2 separate regions of the Homo sapiens genome follow, and region 1 is linked to region 2. The links are contacts of gene promoters, found by promoter capture Hi-C in human tissues and cell types (Jung and others, 2019). All regions are on one chromosome and are shown on one strand. Each heading gives the region's core, a stretch centred on a gene start or on the middle of the fragment in contact. The rest is flanking DNA. Distances are from core to core; before and after follow the strand shown.

Region 1 (6,082 bases), core at 1,689-4,188, 410 kb before region 2:
TCTAAAACATACCACTAATTTTAAAAGGTAAGGTAAAGAAGAGTATATACACCACCTTTAATGAGAGAAGGGGGGAGAATTAAAATACCATATATTCTTATTTGCTTGTGTTTACAAGTTGCTACTTGCAGAGAATATGGGAAAGGCATGGATGGGGATAAGATGGGAGCAAGGTTTTTGAATTTGAAAACTTTTGATTTTTGTGAATTTGCTATTTAAAGAAATCCTGGGGCTGGGCACGGTGGATCAGGCCTGTAATCCTAGCACTTTGGGAGGCTGAGGCTGGCAGATTGCTTGAGTCTAGGAGTTCGAGACCAGCCTGGGCAACATGGTAAAACCCCATTTCTACAAAAAACACAAAAGTTTGCCAGGTGTGGTGGCAGGCACCTATAGTCCAAGCTATTCAGGAGGCTGAGGTGGGAGGATCACCTGAGCCAGGGAAGTCGATGCTGCAGTGAGCCATGATTGTGCCACTGCACTCCAGCCAGGATGACAGACTGAGATCCTGTCTCAAAAAAAAAAAAAAAAAAAGGAAGCAAGAAAAGAAAAGAAATCTTGTAGGGAATTCTTGTAAGAAATTGTCAAAAATGTTTACCTTTGTATATGGTTATAATGTTTCTTGAGGATCATATATTATATATTTTCAAAAATATTGAAGTTGTATAAGCAATTTTCCCAGAAGTGTGAAGAACAGGACAAGATTGGCATGGAAGAGATAAAGCTAAGGTGGAGTTCAACAGCTCAGGAGGAGGAGTCGAAGAAACCTGGGTTTAGGCAGGTAGGTTCTCATGTGAAAGTCAGTCAGAGAAATCTCAGTCCAGAATTCAGGAGGTAAGCACAGTGAGTGTGGAGAGGGTAATTTCTGCCCTGTGTTATATTACCTGCTGGATGTGGGTGGCTCTGAGCCCCCGGATATTTATTACAGCCATAGGAAGTCAGAGAACTGTAGGTGAATGGGAGGCAAAGATAGGAACACTAGGATTACCTTCTAGGCAGCCTGCCAGGAGCATTGATTTGCTCTTGGATAAAGCATGCTGCTCATCAAATATTTATGTTAAAAAAGAGGGCAAGGCATGTGCTGGAATATTCTGCTGAATTTGACAGAGATATTCCTTGAAAACTTGAGACTCCTGGAATTTTGTGTAATCAAATCATACTATAAACACAACAGGTGAATTTGCTATTTAAAGAAATTCTGTAAGAAATTCTTAGGAATTGTCATCTTCTGCTCTTTCTGCTTTGGGAATCTGAGTATGTCTGAAGATAGCTGCATTTAACCAGGTTAAATGTGAAAGGCATTCACGTTTCTGCATCTTTTAGTTTTTTTCACAAGGTGTATTGTCTCCAGAAAACAGCAGATGGCCTAGGTCCGAAGTATGAACCAGCACCTTGATCCTCAGGACCACTGCCTTAGCAGTTAGATTCACTAAACATGGCTGATCCTACAGGCTGTGCAAATGCCTCCCAGAAGAGGAGCCAGGAGAAGGAAGTTGATTCTGGCTACAGGCTTTCTAAAGGATCAACTTAAAAAAGCAAGAAAGTAGTACCAGTTGGTACTAAGGGGAACACAGACAAACTCTCTGAGTTTGTGGTACCTTTGATAACAAGACTCCGCACCTTTTAACCTAAACTAGAAGCCTTTTTCCAGAAGCAGCAGCTACTCATAGGTAAGTTCCAAAGGCTCCTGCAACCACTGTTACTTGCATCCTGTCCCCAAGGAAAAAGGCCTACGGCTGGTCAATAAATAACATGAATCCCTCTCCACGTTCCCAGGAGTTACTACTACTCCATTCCCTGCACCAGGCCAACTACACAACGGGTGCTGGTGACCCTGGCAAGTATTAGGCAATACTGAGCATGCTGGTGTTTAAGTAGCAATAAACAATGTCAACAGCACCCAAAGTGCTGGTCTTTACCTACCCCTCAGAAATAATGAATTGAAGAGAAAGAAACTCATCATAGGCAATGTGTACCACTGAATGTTTGTTTCCTAGCATATATAATCAGTATTACTTTTTTACATGTACCTTGCTGACATACCACAGAAAACATGGTTTTATTCCTTCATTCCACTGACATTCATGAAGTTTATATGTTTCCCAATAAAGCCTGACATGATAAACCAAATGGTTAAGTGACAGACTCTGCCAGCTGATGGCATCTAGAGGACTACTGTGGCTACAGGGGCTTTGAGAAGCAGAGCTGCTGGTAGCCATATTGTGCCTTTGTGTGTGTTAAAAAAAGGCATTCCTTCCATGTACACCTAGACTTTTGCAGGCTTGATAGCATCAGAAAGAAGTTCCCTTTTCTCCTAGCAGAGGCAATCCTACTCCAGGATGCATGTGGTTTTGTTTGTTTAGCAGATGTGAGCCTCCCATTTGCCTCCTTGCCCAGGCACTTTTGTGCAGTGAACAACCTGTATAACAGTTCAAGGTATCCCTGTCAAGAAGTCACAATCCATTCCTTCTGCTTCTTGGCCAGACATCCAACCCTCCCATGACAACTTATCTGCACAGCCAATCATGACCTTATATACCCACATGAAGCCCCATGGTCTAATGTGCAGGCCATGGTCTAATAATTCAGAAGATTTCATTAGTCTAGGCACAGCTCAGGCACCTAGTCTAAAGGTTACACCTTTCTAATTTGCCTGAGATTCTGGTTAAACTTGGTATGATGATGTTATCTCAATAAGGTCTTCAATAAGCCTCAATAAAGTCCAAGAGGCTTTTAGATTTTGATTCCTCTTTCCACCCTTAGATTTAGCTCATGTTGGGATTTAATGGATTTCAGTTTGAGTCTTCATTTGAGAAAAAACCTTATGTTTTTCCTCTGCAATAATTTATCCCCCCAAAACAACACAAAATTTGAGGTAACTGCAAGCTTGGGGTCTGAGTCAAAGGGTCCCAGTGGGGAGTTAAGGGTTTAGTGTCCAGTGGTCAAGGACGTCTTGGCTAGTGCCATCTGAAGCTAAATAAAAGCCTGATTATTTCACATCAATGAAGTTAAGATTCTGCCTCCAATGGGCTCATGTGAGTTTGCACAAAGCCATTCTGAATCAAGACAATTCTCTACACACAATGCAAGTGCAGAGATGGCAACTGATTCAGACTTCACTCCAGTGAGCATGTGTGATCACGCAAACTCAAGTTCAACCAGAGCTTATACTTCTCTCTTCGGTCAACTAAAGGGGATCCTATGTCAATTACATGACCTTGCCTGCAAGGGGAGTGGTGGCCTACTGTGTCAGAAAGCATACAGAATACAAAGCCTTCTGACTCTCTGGGCCCAAAGTCACCCACTTATTATACAATCAATGAAACTGAAAATTACAGAAGATTTTAGCAACCAATCTCTTAGAACTTCTAGATACTAACCCTCTGGCAGAACTGAAAGTATTAATTCTTAACAGTCTCCAACACTCCAGTTTTTTTTTTTATTTTTTTAAGATGGCATCTTGCTCTGTTGCCCAGGCTTGAGTACAGTGGCACGATCTCGGCTCACTGCAAGCTCTGCCTCCCAGGTTCACGCCATTTTCCTGCCTCAGCCTTCCAAGTAGCTGGGACTACAGGCGACCGCCACCACGCCCGGCTAATTTTTTGTATTTTTAGTAGAGACGGGGTTTCATCATGTTAGCCAGGATGGTCTCGCTCTCCTGACCTTGTGATCCACCCGCCTCGGCCTCCCAAAGTGCTGGGATTACAGGCGTGAGCGACTGCACCCAGCCAACACTCCAGTTTTTATTATACAGTAATTCTCTGAAATGCAGACCCATTAAAAGAAGACAAAAACCCTCCTTGTCACAGGATGGTAACCAGACACTTCACAACTGAGCACTTTTACGACACCCAATAAAGACTAACATGATAAACCAAACACTTAAGTGACATCAGATATGATTTTCAAGAGAGACTCTCCAATAAATGGAATAATCTAGCTACAAGTTATCTTAAGTCAAGTCACCTCCACCATCTGCCCTGGATCCATGCTACCTGTTAACTACTCTCCTGTCATTCCTAAGGGAGGAAAGTGGGGAGGTCAGGATCTGTGGGTATGTGCTGGTTCTAGAACAGGATTTAGCGAGTCAGTTCCTTCATCTGTACTATCCAGACCCCCTTTGGAAGTCCAGGGATGAAAGAGGTAGGCTTCACAGGGTCACCAAGGACTGGGCCTTTGTGTGCGCTTCAGGCCTGCTGGGTCTCAGCAGCCATTTGGAAGTGTTAACTGCTATGGCTAAAGAGTGGCAAGCCTGATGGAGAGGCACTGATGATTCTCCTCAGGAAGGTCACCTAAAAGGAGTCTCCTCCTCATGTTTCTCTTGATTAGTTTTATAGTTTTTAAGCAAAACTGACTCCATAAAGCCCACTTCACTCTCACCTCTGGCTGGATGCACCTCCATCTCCGTGCAGAGGGCATGAGATGTGGAGTTAAGATGCTTCTGGGTCAAATTCTGTCCTTGCAACTTGAGCAAGGTTCAGACCTTTAAGGAACCTCAGCTTCCTCCTCTGGGCTGTTGTGACAACTGAGCAAGACTGTATACGGGAAGAGTTTAGAAAGGGCTCAGGATATATAATATATACAATTGTGCTGTAATTAGTTTTTATCTATCCAACCTTCCTGTTAAACTAAGTGCACCAATATCTGCCTCATTACTGTCTTCCAGGTGTCTGATATACTGAAGGTGCTGTAAAAACGCAGCTCATCAAGGCAGGCCTGGATCTGGGAAGTCACAACTTCCATAAAGTCAAGGTTGGTGGACTAGGTCTATATGCAGATCCTAAAAACCCACTGGTAGACTTTTCAAATATTCTTCATGAAGATCAAACTACAAGCTTCTGAAAGGCCTTCTCTTTTACCGCTAAACAATTCTCACTGCAAAGGTTTTGACATTTAACCGAAGGACATTCAACTGCCATAAAGTTGGTGCTTTTTCCAAAACAACAATAAAATCCTGCTATTTGTAGTTAACAAGCCAGATTTGTTTTTTAGTAACTATTACGCAAATTTTTTTTAGTATTTGTAGTTAATAAACCAGATTTGTTTAGTAACTATTACACAAATGAATTATATTTTAGTATATATATAGGCGCATTGTGGAAAATAGGGGAAAAGCAGGTTGGGGGTGGGAGAGCACCATAATCCCATCACCAATTTGTCTGTATTTTCTTCTAGGCTTTTCTTATGGTTTAAAAATAATTTTTAAGCTAGCTGTAATTGTAATAACACAATGTAACTGTGCATACTGCTTTTCCCCATTTTAAACTGTAACAGACTTCATGTATTACTGATTTTTTAAAGTCTCTAATAAAAAAGAAAATGGAATTGAGATTTGGAAGAATTAACTTGTTTAACAAATTAATATTGCAAACCATTTCACATTTAAAAGACAAAATGATGATTGTCTAATTCTCTTACTTTTTAAGTACTATTTGGCAGGACTATTTAAATTACTGAGCTTTTTTTAGATTTGGGGGAAATATTAAAATTTTGTATAGCTGTTTTCCTGTTACAAAAATAATGCATGCTCATTATACAACATTTAGAGAAAATTTCAATAATTTAATGTTAACATTTATTGAATGTGGACTATGCACCAGGCACTATTCCAAATGCTATATACATAGATTAGCTCATTTATTCCTCACAACACTTATTGAAGCATAGATTAAGTAACTTGCTCACAGTCTACTCACCTAGAAGTATGAGCCAGAAATCATTATGTTATGTTCTAGGAGTGAAACGAATCAATAATTTACTCAATCAAATGCTTCAGTTGTTTCAGAGCATAATGTCATAGGCAAGAAACAATTAATAATCACACTGTACCCTTTATAGTTATTTAAAATTATTATAAACCACATCTCTGTGTCCCAGTGGAGCAATTAGTAAAATGAGAAATCATCTGTGGCATGAGCTAAGATCCTGGTTCAGCCCAATTCTGTGCACCTGACGTGCATTAGGACAAAAACAAGAAGCTTTAAAGGGTTTGTTTTAAAGATGGAGGCTTTTTTTTTTTTTTTTTTTGAGACAGAGTTTTTGCTCTTGTTGCCCAGGCTGGAGTGCAATGGCACGATCTCGATTC
Region 2 (6,461 bases), core at 3,762-6,261:
AATTACTCTTTTAAAAAAGAGTAATTGAAAACTCTTTTTAAGAGTTTACAAAAGAGTAAATTAAAAACATGCTCTTTTAAAAAAGATTAATTTATAAGGTTGCACAGTACTCCTACAAACCACATTAGATACTTCTAGTAGTTAACAAAGAGGAAAACAATGACATTTTACAAAATAAAAAGCAGAATTGAATACAGAAAAATATGACTTAACATCAACCAAAAACCAATTGATTAATCTTGTCAAGATTCTTGTCAAGATTCTCACCAGACACCCAAATACTGAAGGATTACAACTATTGCATCATTAAGATATATTAAAAGAAATGCAACAAGCTTAAAATCTAATAAATTGGAGAGTAAACACATATACTCTGCATAACTGTAATTTAATTTCTTAAAATTCTGCAACTTCCAAATAAACAACAGCAGCAGAAACAAAAGCTCACATAAATGGGTCACAGTAAAGACCAGTTGCCTCCACTTAAACAATACTAGCACAATCGTGTGGGCTACATCCTTGAAAGAAGTAGATAATCCATGCACAATTTGAGAAAATTGATTACATATGTGTGTATGTTATATCTTATACAGTATACATTACATCCTCAACATTAAAAATTTAAAAAGGCCACTCACATAAGTTACCTTTTGGAAGAAACAATGATCTTTTCTAAAGAAATAATAATTGGTGATTTGTTGATACTTACAGTTTATGTTTGGAATAGTCTCATTTATGGGTATGCTGAAAACAATGCAACAATTTTCTATTAATCCAGTTCTGATCTTCATACTCTTAGCAGTTTTAGAAGAGCTGAGAACAGTGACCTGCTTTTTCAACCATTATATTTCTGAGACATGACTAATTTGAAGCTGAGCAAATTGCACATAATGGGATTCAAGTTCATGATTTTTAGTCTGCACTCTCTTTTCAGGGTACATGGTCTCCTTCCCTCCCTGCTTCTACCACCACCCCCAAAGCTGCCTTTTCAGGAGCTAAATTCACCCAACATGAAATCAAAAGAGAATTATTTTTAAGTTTTCTGCAGGCTTATTTTTAAGGAGGATAAAGTTATATTTTTAAAAATATTTATCTTTTCCTTCAGGTACTACCGCATTTTTAAATAATTTCTAAATATTTAGAATGTATTTAGATGTATTTAGAATAGTAGATGTATCAGATGTATGGTTTCATAGTGGCTCAAAGTTTTTAAAAAAGCATTATATAAATCAGTGAATTTATAAATACCCTAAGTTCTACTATGTAAGATGTTGCTTTCAGAGCCTTTTTGCAAAATCCCATTAAAGGTTTAGCTTACAGACACTGGTGCCAAAAAAAAAAAAAAAAAAAAAAAAAAAAGCAAGCAAAAAAATGTGTTTTTTTTTGTTTTTTTTTTTTTTTGGTAAGAAGGATGTTGAAATAGGAGAATATTTAAGCTGGCTAAACCAAAGCCAATTCCTGGAGGCTAGTTGCTTTTATAGTGAATGTTTAAATTTTCTCCATCAAATCTAGAAGGCTACAACGAAACAACAGCCTAAATGTCATGTACAATTCTCTAAGTACTGAAAGAGTTACACAATTTTAGAACCGAAAGGGACCTTAAACTCCTTCCTCTACCAATGAGGAGCCTGAAGCCTGCTAGTTAACTCACTTGCCTGGTCACTCTGGGGTTCACGGATTGTTATTGTTTGGTGGGGTGGTTGTTTTTGTGCTGTATATTTGTGTGTGTGGTGTATGCAGTACTCACACCCTTACAAACAAGAGCTTTGCCATTTATATTCTCCCCTTCCTAAGTTGCTCTTCCTAAGTTTACTTTCATCAGCAAAAAGAGTGATCAAAAAGAAAAATATATTCTGGCCAGTTCAAAGGGGACATTTCTTTTTCTCACTTGGCCTACTGCAGATATATTAGAGAGACACTTCACACCCAGGACAACTGACTTTTTAAGTGGCAATAACAATGAGCAGCGGAGGAGTTCTCTTCTCACTCGAGAGAGCAGAGGAGGTTTCTGAACTTTACCTTGACTTCCAGCCTACAAACTGTTCCTTCAACTACTGTCTCCGCTTGCCCACTTTGTTGCTATTCTTTCCTTAGTTTCCTTTGTTTTCCAGCTTAGGGAAGTTTGGTGGGAAAATTTTTCACTTACATTTTGTTGATATTTATTTCCCATATTTGGGTCCTACCCAAATTTTAGATTTAAGAGCAAAAAAAAATTACTGTTTAAGTGAAAGAGGAAAGGCTAAGTCACTGTTCAACATGGGCTAGATCTGATCTGAATTGGAGACACAGCCTTTGCAATTGAGGAAGGAGAGGTAAGCAGTAAACTTATACAGTTTCCTCCAAGAAGTGTTATACATAGATATTTTTCAAGGAAATTGGAATAAAGCAGTTTATTAATTGAGGGGAAGCTAGTTACAGTTAGCACCTGCCGCGGACTTTTTGAGGTTGTCGTCATTAACCAAATTCTTCGGGAAAAACAATCTTTGGCACCACTTACTCCAGACAAACCCTGTTTGGAACAGACAAGTGTTCTGACCCTATAGTCGCTCCAATGTCCACCAGCCACTCACGAGTGCCCTTAGGGCTTCTCCTTGGTGGTAGCATCCCAGAAATCCTACTAGTTTCAGAAGTGCCCTAGGAAGCCTACTTCTTGGATAATGGGCTCTGTCTGCAAAGCTAGGAGATCAGCCTAGAAAAAGAAACACACCAACAAACACCAGGAAACTATGTGTAATGGTTTGCTGCTTGTGCAAAAACCTCAAAGAGGATGAAGGTCAGACAGGGATAATAGGCCAATTTAATTCTGAAAGCACAAGGTGCAAGAAATTTTAATTATGGTCTGCCACTGAAATCACACAAGATCCAATGGCATCTAACTGCAACTGCTCATCAAGGGAGACAAGAGGTGTAATTGTAACCGCTGCATAATCACTGTGAGGGCACAGGGAAGGCTGCCTTCAGCTCCCAGCAGAGAAGGTATTAAGAGCCTCGAAAAATCCAATACGGGGAAACGAGATTGCATGTAGCCAAACAGAAGCTCCTAACACAAAAGCCAACCCGTGTGTGTGTGTGCGCGCGTGTGTGTGTGTGTGTGTGTGTGTGTTGAGGGTGAGGGTTCCAGAAAGAAAATGTGAAGCTGTTTGGCCCACACTGGGGATAAGAGATTGTTTGAAAACTCTGAACCCTTTTCTGTTTTGTGGATAAATGCACACAGAGAAAAGAGCACTGTCTCCTTTAGGTATTTCTCTCCTTGATGAAGCTTCACCCACTCTCCTTTGTTTAAGACAATTGGCTTGGATGTTACCGTGATTTACAGTACCAAACTCCCTTTAATTTGTTCCCATCAAACCCAAGTCTGGAGACAAAACGCCAAGCACACGACTGGAGGTGCCCAAGCCTGTGCAGCTCTGGCAGCGACGCCGCCGGCGCCCCCGGGCGTTTTCCCCGCACCCCACATCGCGTGGGCGCCCGTAAAGGCACGCGCGGAGAAAGCCCCTCCGTGGACTCCCCACTCCGCAAAGTTTAACAAAGCCGTGAAGTAAGGAAACCGAACCTCCCGTCCGCGCCCGCTGCAAAGTTGGCATTGAAGTTTGTGCCGGGATGTCCCAAATCTTGAGGGGGCGGGGGGCGCGAGTGTGCAGAGAGGCGGGAGGATGGATGCAGATGGGGAGACAGTGAGGGGAAGGGAGTTTTTCCGAGTGGACGGTCCGTGAGGCGGTTTTCTTCACCCGGAAGCCTGTTTGACTCAGAGAGGTCCGGGAGGTGCACGCCAGGGGAGGTCTCCCGGGGCGGGCGCTGTCGCCGAGGAGGCCGGCGAGCTGTCACCTGCGGGGGGCTGTGGTGGGAGCTGAGGGCGCTCTCCTAAGCGCCAAAAGAGGACGGGGACATTCACAGTCACCGGCTCTCGGGGCTCTAAGTAGTGGGGGAAGGGATATTCACGAGTGGGCAGGAGGCCAAAAGCAACACCTTTCGGATACGCTTTTCCCCTCCGACCTCTCCAACTTCCCGCGGCGCTGGTCAAGGACTCCCTCCCACCCCACCCCATCCCACCCAACCTCCCGGCCGACAATTCGGACCTGTCCACGGCAGAGCGTGGGGTGGAGTGCGGCGGGAAAGCAGAGGGCGCGAAGGTCGGGACCCCAAATTGCAAACCCTCAGCCCCTAGCAAAGACGACCAAATGCATTTACAACCGTGCAAGTATCTCAGCCTTGTAACAGAGCTCCGGGTTTGCGCCGGGCACAGTTCCCCGACTCTTCTGTTGTTCCTAATAAAGTCGATTACGTTGCCCTCCCGGAGCTGATTGGAAGGGAACCGAGAGGAAAAGGGGGGGAACGCGGGAAAAAGCGGGGGGGGGGGGGGGCGAGCAATCAACTTTGTAACCCAGCGCTTCCTCGCGCGATCCGTCGCCATGCTTAAGATTCCCACCCCCGCCGCCCCCCTCTTGCCTTTCAAGTGGATACTGAAACTAGGCCAAAACTTTTTCCCCTCCTTTTCTCTTAGCCACTAGACTGGATTGTGCCCCACGGAGCCCCATGGAGCTCTGCTTTCTTAAGCACAATAGCCGGACTAATTAGATCATAGAAGCAAGGCAGTGATACTGTAACAAGTAGCCCAAGAGGCAAAGAGGGAAGGGGCCCGAAAAGACAGAAAGGGGGAAAAGTTTGCAGCTCTCCGCACTTACCAATCAAGCCTCCCACCAGAAAGGCGATGATTTGGAACACGAGCAGAATCCCACCAACAATGCACAGCTTCTTGGTGCTCATGTTTTCTATAATTGCCCCAGCCATTTTTGCGCCCCCCCTTTTTCTTTTCTCCTTGAAATAAATGTTTTAGGGTGAGCTTTTTGCTCCCTCCTCTCACACACTCCCTCCTTCCTCGCCTCCTTTCTGGGCGCTGCAAAACTTCAGAGGTGCTGGAGCGCGGCGAGGATGGGACCGGGACGGAAGGCGCCCGCACGGATTCCCCCGGCGCAGCCGGCTCGGGTTCCCCCAATGCCCGGAGCTGTGATTGTGGCCGCTCCGCCGCCTGTGGACGCTTAAAGGAGCAGGGAAGCGGATCACATGACGCCGCCTCCCTCCCTTTCTTCCTCCCTCCCTCTCGCGCTTCCTCCCTCCCTCCCTCCCTCTCTTCCTCTACCCCTTGCCCACCAGTTCGGGGCTCAGAGCTCTGGCGGGTGCTGGCGCCTGGCTCCCGAGTCTGGCCTGCAACCTGTCTCTCCAAGGTCTGATGCCATTTAGGGGTTGCTGTTGATGTTAAGCGGGTTCCCCCTGCCCAGCTTCTCACAGGTTTCCTTTTCTGGTTTCCGAAGTGCGAGATTTAAATCACCGGTGGACCGCCTTGCAGACCTTTAACTTACGCGTTGACTTTAGGAAATGGTCCCCACCCCACCCCCAACTGCTAGAACTCTCTTTAGGAAAGAGGAGGAGAATTTTTTTTAAAAGGACCCAATAGATGCCTAAGTCAAAACACAGAGATGCGGAATAAAGTCTCAGCTCGACTTCTTTCTACCAGATTCCCAGCCTCGGTTATTGGGCACATACCCAGCTAAATTCCCCACGGCGCCCCTTGAGGAAACTTGCTCTCCAGCCAAATCAGACCACTGTTCGTTACTCCAGCACATGTGCTTCCACAGCCTTAACCCTGGTTATTGCCTTAAAGAGAACATGTTCTACTCCATCAATGTTAAACCTGATCCAAAACCAACTAGTGTTAAAAAATCTTTCTAATTTTCCACACCACCTCCATGCAGTATCTCTGGGAACTGAGCCCCTACAATCCTGTATTTACATTTTTACCTCCTATTGTAAGGATTTGTGTACACGTTTGTCTCCACCACTGAGCTGTAAACTCCTGGGGAATAGGGACCAAGTTTTTTTTGTTCTTTGTACCCCCCATGGTGCCTAACAAAATGCTAGCTCTAGTAGGTGCCCCATAATCTTTTGTGGAATGAATAAGTGAATGTGAAAGCAAGCCCACAGTTTGTATTTCAAAGGTCTAAAGAGATCTTAGTTGGTTTAGAGGGTACCTATATTAAGTTACAATGTTTGTTGTCTCTTTGTGAGAAATCATATATTTATATTTATACTTAACTTCCATAAAAAGAGGGGCGGGGCTCCCGATAGAGATTTCCTGCTCTATCAAGCCTAAATTTCTGGGCCTGGTTTTTCCATGTTTCATAAACTGGCCGCTTGGCCAGTACAACTCACCTTACTCAATAGACCCTTGGTTTGGTAAATACCCCACCCTGCTCCCCAAACGTGCAGTTTCTACCACCACCACCCACACATCTTGTTTCTTGTCCCTCCCATCCTTACACACCCTCTTCATGCCAAGAGACTATTTTTCCCAGTCCTCTCTCCTCCTCTACTCTGTTCCTGAATTTTCATTGCCCTTATAAAAGATGTCATGCAGGTTACACTTAATAGAAGCATTCATTTCTAATCTCCAAATAGAACAGAGA

What was found. The method cuts DNA at HindIII sites, captures the fragments that hold promoters and counts their contacts. A contact is called where the count stands out against the background at its distance.
Region 1: a fragment that was not itself captured here is called in contact with the fragment with the promoter of WLS in region 2 in 1 of the 25 tissues and cell types used here (hippocampus).

The regions. Positions count from the first base shown.
Region 1 is chr1:67,823,998-67,830,079 of GRCh38, forward strand. The region is part of intron 1 of GNG12 (G protein subunit gamma 12); the gene reads right to left. Among named protein-coding and RNA genes, the nearest start is that of GNG12-AS1, 5.2 kb to the right of the region's middle. The HindIII fragment of the contact is 7,209 bases long and covers 1-6,082 here.
Region 2 is chr1:68,227,512-68,233,972 of GRCh38, forward strand. WLS (Wnt ligand secretion mediator) reads right to left here and starts at 5,012. Exons shown (of 12, transcript NM_024911.7): 1 at 4,683-5,012. The coding sequence starts at 4,788. The HindIII fragment of the contact is 13,703 bases long and covers 1,798-6,461 here.